Linked DNA regions of Homo sapiens: regions 1, 3 and 4 are each linked to region 2. The links are contacts of gene promoters, found by promoter capture Hi-C in blood cells and fetal thymus (Javierre and others, 2016). All regions are on one chromosome and are shown on one strand. The core of a region is centred on a gene start or on the middle of the fragment in contact, and the rest is flanking DNA. Distances in the headings are between cores, read along the strand shown. Region 1 holds the start of MIDN (midnolin). Region 2 holds the start of ABCA7 (ATP binding cassette subfamily A member 7). Region 3 holds the start of LOC105372236 (a long non-coding RNA gene). Region 4 overlaps CBARP (CACN subunit beta associated regulatory protein).

The links. The method cuts DNA at HindIII sites, captures the fragments that hold promoters and counts their contacts. A CHiCAGO score of 5 or more calls a contact.
Region 1: a contact is called between the fragment with the promoter of MIDN here and the fragment with the promoter of ABCA7 in region 2, in 17 of 17 cell types (neutrophils, monocytes, M0 macrophages and 14 more). The highest score is 20.5, in neutrophils.
Region 3: a fragment that was not itself captured here is called in contact with the fragment with the promoter of ABCA7 in region 2 in 1 of 17 cell types (total CD4 T cells); the score reaches 5.3 in total CD4 T cells.
Region 4: a contact is called between a fragment that was not itself captured here and the fragment with the promoter of ABCA7 in region 2, in 1 of 17 cell types (monocytes). The highest score is 5.5, in monocytes.

What each region holds. Positions count from the first base shown.
Region 1 is chr19:1,246,712-1,249,961 of GRCh38, reverse strand. MIDN (midnolin) reads right to left here and starts at 1,379. Exons shown (of 9, transcript NM_001388306.1): 1 at 1,302-1,379; 2 at 1-72. LOC102723811 (a long non-coding RNA gene) reads left to right here and starts at 1,890. Exons shown (of 2, transcript XR_007067082.1): 1 at 1,890-1,949; 2 at 2,101-3,250. RefSeq lists silencers at 156-625, 656-775, 836-1,295, 1,386-1,925 and enhancers at 769-1,302, 3,238-3,250. The HindIII fragment of the contact is 31,339 bases long and covers 1-3,250 here.
Region 2 is chr19:1,038,284-1,041,356 of GRCh38, reverse strand. ABCA7 (ATP binding cassette subfamily A member 7) reads right to left here and starts at 1,250. Exons shown (of 47, transcript NM_019112.4): 1 at 1,161-1,250; 2 at 1-132. It overlaps CNN2 (calponin 2), which reads right to left. Exons shown (of 7, transcript NM_004368.4): 7 at 2,292-3,073. RefSeq lists enhancers at 1-203, 2,096-2,595, 2,596-3,073, 2,685-3,073 and a silencer at 115-254. The HindIII fragment of the contact is 29,553 bases long and covers 1-3,073 here.
Region 3 is chr19:1,263,570-1,266,918 of GRCh38, reverse strand. LOC105372236 (a long non-coding RNA gene) reads left to right here and starts at 378. Exons shown (of 3, transcript XR_936233.3): 1 at 378-2,406. It also overlaps LOC107985303. RefSeq lists a silencer at 1-600 and an enhancer at 3,329-3,349. The HindIII fragment of the contact is 2,763 bases long and covers 683-3,349 here.
Region 4 is chr19:1,228,685-1,232,051 of GRCh38, reverse strand. It overlaps CBARP (CACN subunit beta associated regulatory protein), which reads left to right. Exons shown (of 10, transcript NM_001393918.1): 9 at 777-951; 10 at 1,910-3,367. The coding sequence ends at 2,873. Among named protein-coding and RNA genes, the nearest start is that of CBARP-DT, 7.6 kb to the left of the region's middle. The HindIII fragment of the contact is 3,711 bases long and covers 1-3,367 here.

The DNA.
Region 1 (3,250 bases), core at 130-2,629, 210 kb before region 2:
GTCTGCCGCCCGGGTCGCGCTTCCTCGCGCGTCCCCTCCCTTAGCAACAGCCGTCGCCGCCGCTCGGAGGATCTGGGGGTGAAAGTAACAAGAAAAAAAAGTTATAATGTATCAACGTTCCAGGGGGCGGGGCCGCCGCCCCCTCCCATTCACTACTTACTCCGCCGGCCGGGCGCCGGCCAATCGCCGCGCGCCGAGCGCCCAGTCGGCCGCGAGCCCGGGCCTATGAGAGCCGCCGCGGCACCGCCCCACGTGGCAGCCGGGCCCGCCCCCTCGCCCCGCCCCCAGCGCCCAGGCGACCAAGGGGAGCGCAGCGGGGGCGGGGCTGGCGCCTCTCCGCGCCCGCCCCCGCCCCGCCCGCGCCCGCAGCCATTCATAAGCGCCCGGAGCCCGCAACAAAGGGCGGGCGCGCCCCGGGGGGCGCGGGACCCAGGTCTGGAGACGGGTCTGGTACCCCTCGCGATCCCAAGGGAGCGGCCGGGAGCGGGAGGGGGCGCGGGCCATTGTTCCCGGCGCCGGGAGGGGCAGGAAGTCGTGGGGCCACCCCGCCGCCTTCGTCCGGGAAAAGCCGCGAGCGGAAGCGGGAGCGCGAAGTCCGCGCCTCGTGGCCGGGGTCCCGGGGCGGGCGGGCGACGGTGAGGCTAGGGCCGCGGCCCCGGGGAGGGCGTGGTGCGTGGGGGCGGAGTTGTGGCCGGGGCGGGGCGCCCGCACCTCGGTGACGTGGCCGGGTGGCTGCCGCCGGGGGCCCCGCGCGCCCACCCGCCGGCCGCGGGCAGAACCCGTTTCCCCGAGGCGCGCCCGCTCGAGCCGTGACGTGACGCGGCGTCCCCGGCTGCGCCCGCGCGCGCTCGGGGATGCGGTGAGTCAGCAGCTCGGGCGCGCCCTCTGCCGGGCCCGCCTGGGAGCGCCGCCCGGAGTCCCGGGGAGGGGGCGCCGCGCTGCCCCTGGCAGGGGAGGAAGACGACTGGGCTGCGCGCGGGGGAGGAACCCCGATCGGGAACGAAAGACTGTAGTCGGGAGACTGGGACCGTGTGGCTGGGCAACGGAGGGCGGAACGGCAACCAGTTCAAGGTCACCCGCGGTGAAGGGGGAGTGCCCCGGGGGGCGGGGCGGGGGCTGAGGTCCGGCCAGGGCGGCGCTGGCTGCGCGGAGCCCCTCCCACCCCGCACCCCGGGGGGCTTCCCAGGACCGGAGGCTCCCCGATCCCTCCTGTCCCAAGAACAAAGAAAAGTGCGGGCATCCTGAGCCATCTAGAGTGGGCACCCTTCCTCGGCCCGCAGGTCCCCCCCCTCCACACTCACCGGGCGCGGCCGGTTCTGCGCTCCAAGTGCTGCGAGTACCTTCGTCCGGGGCCGAATGCGCGCTGGCCGGGCCGGTCTGGGCCAAGCGCGCGGCCCTCAGCCTTTATCCGCGCCGCCTTCCCTCGGGGTGGAGTTAGGGCGGGCAGGGGGGCGGGGGGCCGGGCGGGCGGTGACGCAGACTGGCCCCCGCCCCTGCCTGCCGGCCCTGGCCCTGGGGCGCCTTGACGGCTGGGCCACCCGGGACCCAGGCTTGGCGCAGTTCATGGGGGGACTCCCCTTGAATGCCCCGAGCCAAGGGTCTCGGCCCGCCTCGCCGCGGGCTGAGATGCACCCCGAATCGTCAGCGGGACAGGGTTTTGGGGTGTACAGCGCGACTCGCTGCCCCGCCCCCTTCCTGTCGCCCCAGGCCCGGTGCTTCCGCCTGGGGGCGCCCGCGTGGGGGGGACGGGAAGAGGGGCCTGAGTCAGCGGCTGTCGTCCAGGAAAACAGGCTGGAGTCACCTGCCGTAGAGTGGGGGTGCCCTGGCCAGCCCTGGCCTCCTGCATCTGTCAATGGTGACCTCAGAGGGCATTTATGGAGCGATTAGCCAGTGCCAGGCCTGCCTTGTGCCCAGCCAGTCACCAGCCGGCTATGCTGTGACCCCGGGAGGTAACTGGCCTCTCCAAGCCTCAGTTTCTCCAGGGTGGGTGGGAGTGTGGTGAGGGGATGCGGCAGGATCACTTTGGGGCCATCACCCCCCATTAATGCAGGACATGCACTGGTTCCCAGCCTTTGGGGTGGGCATTACCCCATTTTACAGATGAAGAAACTGAGGCCACAGCCAATGAGACACGAATGTGGTGTGCATCTCACCCTTCCCCGTCGGCTTTTTGAGGATGGTCCTGGTTGAGGTGGGCCCCGTCCTGCCCCTCTATTTAGAGAAGGGGACCCCATTCCTACGGGAGCACCTCCTGTCCACTCATCTGGCCCCTCCCTTTATCTGGCCTGACCACCTCCACCCCCACCCTGGCCATGGGCGCCCCTCCCAGGGCTGCGCTCCTCCCCAGGTCTCCTTCCGGCTGCCACCCATGCTCCCGGCAGCCGTGGCCCCCACCTTGACAGGCACACCCAGCCCCGAAGGGTCAGGGCTAGGCCAGAGAGGGAGAGGCTGGGATAACCCTTGGAAGGGGGTCACAGGGGCTGCGGTTTGAGGAATGACTAGGAGTTTGTCACATAAAAAAGATGATGCGGTCGGGCGCGGTGGCTCACGCCTGTAATCCCAGCACTTTGGGAGGCCGAGGCGGGCGGATCACAAGGTCAAGAGATTGAGACCAGCCTGGCCAACATGGTGAAACCCTGTCTCTACTAAAAATACAAAAATTAGCTGGGCATGGTGGCATGTGTCTGTAGTCCCAGCTACTCAGGAGGCTGAGGCAGGAGAATCGCTTGAACGCGGGAGGCGGAGGTTACAATAAACCCAGATCGTGCCAGGGCACTCCAGCCTGAGCGACAAAACGAGATTCCGTCTCAAAAAAAAAAAAAAAAAAAAAAAAGGCCGGGCGCGGTGGCTCATGCCTGTAATCCTGGCACTTTGGGAGGCCGAGGCGGGCGGATCACGAGGTCAGGAGTTCGAGACCAGCCTGATCAACATGGTGAAACCCTGTCTGTACTAAAAACACAAAAATTAGCCAGGCGTGGTGATGTGCGCCTGTAATCTCAGCTACTTGGGAGGCTGAGGCGGGAGCATTGCTCGAACCCGGGAGACGGAGATTGTGGTGAGCTGAGATTGTGCCATTGCACTCCAGCCTGGGCAATAAGAGCGAAACTCCTCTCAAAAAAAAAAAAAAAAAAAAAAAAAAAAGACGATGGTCCAGGAAGTGGGAATGGCTTGAGCAGTTCTGGGAGCTTAGTGAACTGGACCCAGTTGGAGGGAGGAGGGGCAGGGTCGATGAATGGGGCTTGGATGAAGG
Region 2 (3,073 bases), core at 1-2,500:
GACTGGGCAGGGGACGGGACAGAGAGGTCAGGACAACGGTCGGGCTGAAGACGTGCGGTGCGGCTGCGGGCAACTCCCTGCCCCTTTCTGAACCTCATTCCTTTATCCCACAGCGCAGGGTTCCTGGAAGCTCTGATTAGAGCGAGGCAAACAGTAGTCACTCGATAAAGAGGCTCCGCTACCCCAGGGGTGGAGTAAACCAATGGGAGCGCAACCCGCAGCCGTCCTCGCATCTGATTGGCTGCCAGGACTGTCGCTCTGAGCAGGGCTGACAGCTGGGGACTTAAAGATCATCCTCTAATCCTCCAGGGACCGAGTTTGGGCTTAACGCTTTCGTCACCAGGCTCCACCCCAAGCCTCACCTGGAAGCCTCTTCCAGGTCCTGACCCCCAGCCTCCTGCCTGGCCCAGCCCAGGCAAGGATTCCTTTCCCCTCACTGTTCTCCGAAGATAACAGCAACGAATATTGGCAGTGCTGGACATTTCACACGCCCAGGGGAAGTGCTGGACTATCACCCCACTCTACAGAAGTGGAAACCGAGGCCCAAGAAAGCAAACCCAGGCACCCAGAGAGACAGGCAGTTGCCCAGCTGGAGGCACGACCCCAGCTCTGCCCACACCTTATGTAGCATTAATCGCTCAGAGGGACCGCGGGAGCCAGAGAAAGAGTCAGGCGAAGGGGCTGGGATAGAGACTCCTGGAGTCAGCGATTCCTGATCTATTTTCCTTGGGCCGGTCCACCTCTGACACAGATGGAGAATCTGACGCTGACAGAGGGGCAGGAAGTTGCTAAAGGTGACCAGGCCGGAACTGGGACCTCAGACCCAGACCCTTACGCCAGGGTTCTTTCCTTTACATCAAGCGGGACTTAGGATCTGGGGGAGTGGGCTCAGTTTCTCCATTTGTAAGACGGGGCAAGGGGGAGTGCAGGAGTTCTAACGGGCAGGGGGCTGCAGGTGTGTGATCGGCAAAGGCCCTCTTAAGGGTCCCAGATGTCCGATGCCCCCCTTGAGAATCAGTGATCAATTCAGCCGTCGTCAACATTCACCGGAAGGAGGTCAGAGGCTGGACCCCCTAATTCCCAGGGAACTTGCATCCCTCCCGGCCCCAACCCCGCATTCTCGAGTCTCGGGCCTTCTTCCCTCTCCGAGTCCTTCTCACCTTCCAGGGGCTCCGCAGCTCTTGCCGCCTTCCCTCCGCCCAGCAGCAGGCAGGGAGCGCGCCGCCCCTTAAGCCAAGTGCGCTGAGCTTGCCCGCGCAGGTAGCAGCGCCGGGGCACGCCCCTGCCTCTGCACGCTGCTATTGGGCGACCTGCCCGTCACTCACTGGCCTGCTCCGTCGGAGCTGCGCGGGCCAAGGGAGGAGACGGGATCACAGAAGGGCCTCGCCTAGCCGGGTTTCTTAAAGGGACCGCGCGGCTCTTGCTGCATCACCGTAGGGTGGCGGAGTGCCCGGCAGGTCCCAGGCAGGCCGCCCTCCGGGAACGAGGCTGCGCTGTCTTTGGGGAGCCAGGCTGCCTCCCCACGTTGTATAACCGGCTGCAATACCGCAGCTCCGAATTGCAGGAGTTCCCTCTGTCCCCGCTGTCCCCGGGGCTGGCCAGGCTCCCTCTAGTTTAGTCCAGACTCTGGGACTACACTCGTCCGTCTGTAAAGTAGGGGTTCCACTAGATCATTCGTTCATTCATTCATTCCACGAACGCTCCTCGGCTTCTGCAGAGGATGGCAGGAGGGGGAGGGGGCCAACATTCTAGAGTCTCCGATTATAGTGGCTACCCTGATTTTGAGGAAAACCCGTTTCCCACTCTGGAAGAAGAGTTGAAATAAACTCTTCAGGCTGGAGGTGAAGCTGAAATGGGAGCGTGTGGGTCCACAGCTTTGAAGGCGCTGGGGAGAGTGAGAGGCGTGGGGACGGCTCCCGCGGCAGGAGGTGGCATTGCCGTTGGGGCTTTGAGGATAAATAGGAGTTCGCCAACGGGGAGACATCCAGGCTGAGGCCACGAGACTTGCGCTGTAAGGTAGAGTGCAGCCAAAGCGCATGGGGGGCATTTGAGGGAACTGCCTCTTCTCCAAATGGCCAGGAAGCCCAGCCTCTCCCTCTACCCCAAGTCCCGGCCCTTCAAATCATTCATTCCACCCAGACTCACCTGTGGCTTCAGCTTTTGCTCCTCCTCCCAATGGTGAGGTGGACATTTTCCCCTTGATCCCCCCATCCCCCAAGACCTCCTCTCTCCCCACAAAAGCATCAAAGCAAAGCACGCCCTCATCGACGCCAACTCTCTTGGCCACCTTCTCTTCGTACAAACAGAGGTTTTATTGCGTTTGGTCCACAGTCGTATTTCACATTATCTCACGGAGCAGGTCCCCTGGGTGGGGGGTCCCTGTGCAGTACTTGGCGGGGCATGTGGCCGGGGAAGATGGAGCAGTATAAGCTGGTCGGGCCCAGAAGGGAGGAGGGCTGGGGGCTCCTTAAAACCTACTGAGGGGCTGGGCACGGTGGCTCACACCTGTAATCTCAGCGCTTGGGGAGGCGGAGGCGGGCGGATCACACCTGAGGCCAGGAGTTCGAGACCAGCCTGGCCAACATGGGGAAACCCCATCTCTACTAAAAATACAAAAATTAGCCGGGCGTGGTGGAGCACCTGCAGTCCTAGCTACTCAGGAGGCTGAGGCTGGAGAATCGCTTGAGCCCGGAAGGTGGAGGTGCAGTGAGCCAAGATGGCGCCACTGCACTCCAGCCTGGGCAACAACCACAACTGAAAAAAAAATCTACTGAGGCCAGAGTGGGTTGGGGCGGGGAGCATGGAGAGGGGGTCAGGCTTAGCCCCAACAACTCAGAATTTCACTTCCTTGTACGGCCCTCACTTTCTCCACCTGGCCCCGGGGCAGGTCTGAGGGTCTGAAGTCTGTTGGTCTGAAGGTCCTAGGCAAATCCAGTCACTTGGGAGCCGGAGATATTTAACATCACGGCCCGGTCCCCTTTCCCAGGGGACTCATTTCCTAGCACTCTCTCCACTGTCCTTGCCCCACCCCTGGGGGAAAAAATGTATTTTTCTTTTGTGAATACTTCCTGAA
Region 3 (3,349 bases), core at 815-3,314, 220 kb before region 2:
CGCGCCTCGGCCCCAACGGAGGAGCTCAAAATAGCCGCGCCGGGCGGGGGCGAGACTGCTATTCCGGGCCCGACGCGCGGGGCTCGCCCCTGCCCGGCGAGGCGCGGGGATCAGTCAGAGTCCCCGAACCTGCTCCCCGCGCGTCTGTCTTGGGCCCCGTGGGCCCATTCACAAATCCGCCCCCTTTCCAGCCTGCCGTCTCGGAAGGGGCGCGCACCTCCTGCACCCTGATACTCCTCCCGGGCCTCCTCCCCTGCGGGGCGTCGCCATGGAGACGAGGGCGGAGCTCCCTCGCTCCCGCACCGCCCACTCCGCCCTCCCCACGGGGCCCCGCCCGCCGGACGCCAGGTCCTCCCCCGACCCCGACTAATGACCGGGCGGGAGGCGGTAGAGAGCGTCTAGGCCTGCGACGGGCGTGGCCGAGGATGAAAGGCGCGTGGGGGGGACCCCGGGGCCGCATAATTACCGCCTCCTCCTAGCCAGGCGGGGGCCGGGACCGTGCACCTGGCGGCCGCCCCGCGGGGGCGCAGAAATAGGACCGTCCTGGCAGAGGCTGCAGCCGACCCAGCTGGCCCCACTACGCGGGGCCCAGAGCCAGGGTGGGGGATGCAGAGACCGGGCGTGCGGGTTGCCAGGTGTGGCGCACATGTGTGCCCGTGGGCAGAGTACAGAGACACAAGCTTGTGTGGACACGAATGTGTAGCTATGTGCGAGTGCACACGGCGTGGTGAGTGCAGGGACCCCAGGCCGGCCTGCGTCGGTGCGCAGGGCATATAGGGGCGTGCACGCAGTCTTGGAGGTGTGTGCACAGAGCCCCCGGCACCCGCGTGTGTGCAAAGACACAGGAACCCGTCTGCGTGGCGCTGTGTGTGCAACCCAAGGAGGTGGGCGCTTGGACTCCAAAGTGTGCGCTTATCCGGATGTGGATGTGGGGGCAGCCGGGGACAGGGCTGGGTGTGCGTGACTCGGGTGTGCCGGGACCCACAGAGCATATGTGTCCATGCCTGGTGCTGTGACTCATGTCCCTGGGGTGGGCACGCGTGCTGTGTCAGCGGGAGCCGCGCCTCCCAGGGCAGCCCAGAGTTCCAGAAGCCCAGAAGAGGAAGGGTTAAACCTGCCTCTTCCCCCAGCTCCCAGCTGAGTCCAGGGCTGGGATCTCAGGTCCCCTGGGAGGCCCCGCGCGCCCCCCCCCGCCACCCCGCCCCACCCCCGGGCCTGAGATTCAGGGGCTGCTACACAGGAAAGCCGGACTGAGCTGCTCCCCAGCCTCAGTTTCCCTCCTGTTCCTCGGATGCGTTCGCAGGGTGGGTCGGCTTCCCTTCCCTGTGACTCACCCCCTCCCCACAGGCCTGAGTCACAGCTCAGGAATGTGGAGGCTGGGAGGCCCTGTCTACTCCTGCCCCGGCCAGGCCATCCCAGCAGCCCAAAGGCCAGGCCTGGGCCACAGAGGGACATCCCCGGCACACACACCCCGCCACAGGCCACACACAGGTGCACACCCACACCCCTGCTTCGTACCCACTGGACACAAAGTCATACACCATGCACTCGGCATCCGGAGACCCTGCCTGCCACAGGCACACGCAGTAGACAGGCTGGGGACAGGACGGACCCCGACCTGCCCTGGGGTCACACACCTGTTTGCTCTTTCAGTACACAGGATACTGCAGAGACATAGGTGACCCCTTCTGCTGGGGCGCAGACCAGCCAAGCACATGTGGCGGACGTGTAGTGACGTGCACCCATGCGTGTCTGTGACGTGCAGATCAGGTGTCTGTGAAAGGCCCAAGACCCTGCATGGCCCACGGACACCCTAAAGCTGACCGAGGCTTAGGCTCGCCTGCGTGGACGCTGGGGATGCAGCCACCTAGTTTCTGAAACTGGGAAAAGGTCTGGGGGCTCCGGAGCCCCCACCTCCATGCAGCCTCAGATGTTGCTTAGCAACAGATGCGCGCTCTGGGGTAGGCGGATGGATCTCCACCTGGGCCCAGTTCCCTCTCATGGGACTACACGTCCTGTGCCTAACAGAGAGGTCAAAGAGTGGGGATTTCCTGCAAAGCCAACCAGGCTCAGGGTGGCCCTGCCTAGGGTGGGAGGTATCTCCATGGCAACAGTGGAGTGGGACAAGTGGAGAGTATTTCCCCACTCTCCCAGGCAGCTGCAGGGGCTCAGGACCTACGGAGTGCAAGTGAAGACACCTATGTTGCATCTTGCTGGAGAGGCACCTGGCACCTGCCCGCCCCAGCGTGCCTGGAGGGTTCCCACATCCAGACGGACAGACGGGCCAGGGGACACCCGTCCAGGCAGCCATGGCTGCTCAGCCACAGTCCCTGGAGGGTCAGGGGCCCAGCTGTGAGGCAGGCGGTGCCCAAGACGCTCTCTGGACCGCACTGCTTCATCTGAGAGGTGGGCATGCCAGCAGCACCTCCTGGGGTTAGAGGCGCACAGGGAAGACCTGGTAGGAAGTCGGTCAAGGGCAGTTAGCAGCAAAAGACAGCTCCACGCAGCGCCAGGCTTTCCTTGTTGTTTGCTTCCTTGATGTGGCAGTCCACATGGAATCATCCCGTATGCAGGCCGGGAGCGCTGGCTCATGCCTGGAATCCCAGCACTTTCGTTTGAGTCCAGGAGTTTGATACCAGCCGGGGCAACATAGCTAGACCCTGTCTCTACAAAAAAAAAAAAAAAGCAAAATTAGCTGGGCATGGTGGTGCTCACCTGTAGTCCCAGCTACTCAGGAGGCTGAGGCAGGAGGATCGCTTGAGCCCAGGAGTTCCAGCGAGGCTGCAGTGAGCTGTGATGGAGCCACTGCGTTCCAGCCTGGAAAGAGAGTGAGACCCCGTCTCGAAAATACTAATAACTGGGGCCAGGTGTGGTGGCTCACACCTGTAATCCCAGCAATTTGGGAGGCCAATGCGGGTGGATCATTTGAGGGCAGGAGTTTGAGACCAGCCTGACCAACATGGTGAAATCCCTTCTCTACTAAAAATAAATAAAATTGGGCTGGATGCTGTAGCTCACGCCTGTAATCCCAGCACTTTAGGAGGCCGAGACAGGCAGATCACTTGAGATCAGGAGTTCGAGACCTGCCTGGCCAACATGGGGAAAGCCCGTCTCTACTAAAAAAATACAAAAATTAGCCGGGCGTGGTGGCGGGCGCCTGTAATCCCAGCTACTCCAGAGGCTGAGGCAGGAGAATCACTTGAACCCGGGAGGCAGAGGTTGCGGTGAGCCGAGATCGCGCCAATGCACTCCAGCCAGGGCGACAGAGCGAGACTCCGTCTCAAAACAAAAACAAACAAAAATAATAATTGTCCCGTATGCTAACTCTCCTGTTTCATTTGTATTTCCA
Region 4 (3,367 bases), core at 524-3,023, 190 kb before region 2:
CAGGAGAGGGCACCTCTCTCCCTCTCCTCGTTGGCCCCCACCAGCCTGTATGTGACTCTCTCATGCCTTCCGTAGTTTCAGCCAGGCTGTGCAGGCCACCAGGTGTCCAGGACACGCCCTTATGAGTGGCCACATGTTGACCAGGGCTGCCACAAGGCACTATCGGTGCCAGAGGCCCTTCCACTCACTCGCTTCCTGGCCCTGCCCTGCTCAGGCTCTCTGGTCCCAGCACCTCTTCCCTCCGTGCCTCAGTTTTCTCACCTGTACTCCAGGGTGTACACACAGCCACTGTCCGCACCCACCTGACCCGGGGAGATGCCAGCCAGGGTCTGGCCCAAGCCAGGGCCCACTCCTGTGTGTGTGAGACAGAGACAGGGCACACGCGTTGTGTGTGTGTGGGGGCCACAGGTGTTCTGTGTGTAGGAGGGTACAGGCATTCTGTGGGGGGGGCACAGGCATGGGGGGTGCACAGGCGTTCTGTGGGGGGGGCACAGGCGTGTGTGTGTGAGGGGGCCACAGGCGTTCTGTGGTGGGGGGCACAGGCGTTCTATGTGTGTGTATGGGGGCCACAGGCGTTCTGTGTGTGGGGGGGGCCCAGGCGTTGTATGTGTGGGGGGCACACGTTGTGTGTGTGTGGTGGGGGTCCACAGGCGTTGTGTGTGGCGGGGGGGCACAGGCATTGTGTGTGTGTGGCGGGGGGGCATAGGCATTCTGTGTGTGTGTGGAGCGGGTGGAGGCACATGCCGGCTGACGCTTACGGCACATCCCGTGCGCAGGTTCCCCCAAGCGGCACCACTTCCAGCGGCAGCGGGCAGCCAGTGAGAGCACGGAGCAGGAGGAGGGGGATGCCCCCCAGGAGGACTTCATCCAGTACATTGCCCGGGCGGGCGACGCCGTGGCCTTCCCGCACCCCCGCCCCTTTCTGGCCAGCCCGCCCCCTGCTCTCGGCAGGTATTTTTCAGTAGATGGAGGTGCTAGGGGTGGACCTGTGGGCCCTTGCCCCCCTTCGCCCCCCCCTAGGCGGCCCAGGGAGCGCTCTCCAGGCCCCGTGGACACGCGCTCGCCTGCCTCCAGCGGCAAGGCCCCTCCCAGAGGCGGACTCACTGGGGCCACCTCTCCAGCATGGACCAGAGGAGGGAAGCAGGGAGAGACTGGGTAAGGGTAGGGCGGTGGGTGGGGAGGAGGGGCCCCCCGAGGATGGCGCTGGTACTGCTGCTTGCTGGTGGAGTCCGAGGCCTGAAGGGTTCTGCTGTGGTCCCAGGCCCTCTCCCACCCCCGCCCCGCCCATGCTCCCAAGGCTGGGCAGACTCCTCTCAGAAGCTGCTGTGACCACTCCGGCCAGCAGCACCCCTCCCCCAACCCAAGGGCAACTTCCCTGAAGCCCAGGGCCCACGTCGGTGGGATGGGAATGGGGCGTGGGGCTGGGGCAGAGCAGGGTTCCTGGGGCAGCCCTGGTATGGCGGGTGACCCTCACGTCTGTGCACTGTCCTCCTGCTGGTTATCCAGCATGGGTGGGCAGAGAGCCCTAGCCTGGAGCAGGGGCTGAGCTGGACTCAACCGCGTCCAGTCCATCCCCTGCGGCTCCCACGTCCACTGGGAGGCTGGGAAAACGTGACTCCCGGAGAGAAGCATGTTGACTTTTCCTGGGGGCTTCCAAGGGAGGGGGCCCCGCCGTCTGCAGTCCAGCATGGAGGCACCCTGCTTAATAAGCAGGCGCCACAGCTCAGGGTCAATGCAAGACGCATCCCCTGCAAAACACACTGGCTCATTTTAAAGCTCTCACCTTCCAAGGCCCGCCCGAGTCCCAAGTCCCACCCGCGTCCACCCTCCCTGATCCAGAGGCGGGATGGCCGGCCGGGTAGGGGGCGCGGGGCTCGGCGGGGCTCTGACGGCGCGGCCTGGCTTGCAGGCTAGAGGCGGCCGAGGCAGCGGGAGGAGCGAGCCCCGATTCCCCCCCGGAGCGCGGCGCGGGCAGCGCGGGGCCTGAGCAGCAGCAGCCGCCACTGGAGCCGGACGCCGAGCGGGACGCGGGCCCCGAGCAGGCCCAGACCAGCTACCGCGACCTGTGGAGCCTGCGCGCCTCGCTTGAGCTGCATGCGGCCGCCTCGGACCACAGCAGCAGCGGCAACGACCGCGACTCGGTGCGCAGCGGCGACAGCTCGGGCTCAGGCTCCGGGGGCGCGGCGCCCGCCTTCCCGCCGCCCTCCCCGCCCGCGCCGCGGCCCAAGGACGGCGAGGCGCGCCGGCTGCTGCAGATGGACAGTGGCTACGCCAGCATCGAGGGCCGCGGCGCAGGCGACGACACCGAGCCACCTGCCGCGCCCGCCCGGCCCCGCAGCCCGCGCGCCTGGCCCCGCCGCCCGCGCCGCGACTACAGCATCGACGAGAAGACGGACGCGCTGTTCCACGAGTTCCTGCGCCACGACCCGCACTTCGACGACACGCCGGCTGCCGCGCGACACCGCGCCCGCGCGCACCCGCACGCCCGCAAACAGTGGCAGCGTGGCCGGCAGCACAGCGACCCCGGCGCCCGCGCGGCCCCGGCCCTGGCCGGAACCCCGGCACCGCCTGCCGGCGCGGCCCGACCCGCGCGTGCGCCCTTGCGGCGCGGCGACAGCGTGGACGGCCCGCCCGACGGTCGCACCCTGGGCGGCGCCGGCGACGACCCCGCCATCCCCGTCATCGAGGAGGAGCCGGGCGGCGGGGGGTGCCCCGGCTCGGGCCTGTGCGTCCTACCATCCGGGTCGGTGCTGGACAAGCTGGCGGCTGGCCTCGACGAGAGACTCTTTCCGCCGCGCCTCGCCGAGCCCGTCGTGGCGACTCCCGCGTTGGTCGCCGCCGCCCCCACGTCCCCCGACCACAGCCCGGCCTAAGTCCCGCGTCCTGGGCCCATCTCTCTGGCAGCTTCTCCGGCGCCGCACGGGGCCTCGGCGGCGGGAGAGACGTGGGGGCGCGACGCCCCGACGCGAATGCGCGGGGACCGCGGGCCCTTCGCGCACGCGCCGGGCGACGGAGGCGCGCTCGCCGCTTCAGGGCGCAGGCGCAGAGCCCCGGCCGCCCTCGCGCCGCCGAAGTGTGCACTGCTCTTTCCGGTGCTTGCCGGGTGCTGGGCGTCGTGAGGCGCGGGCCGCGGAGACCCCGGCTGGGCGGGAAGGAAGGGGCGTGAACGGCTCTCAGCTTCGGGCTCCTGAGGACAACGATCACTCGCCCTCAGTCCCGGACGGGGCGGCCGCTTAGTCGCAGGGCCCGCCACCCGAGGGTCGCGCAGCCCACTGGGCCCGATGGAGCCGCCGCGTGCCGGGCGCGTGCGCGAGCTCGCCCGGGCGGGGGCCGCGGGGCGCTAACGGTCGCAGACGAGTTCGCCGCC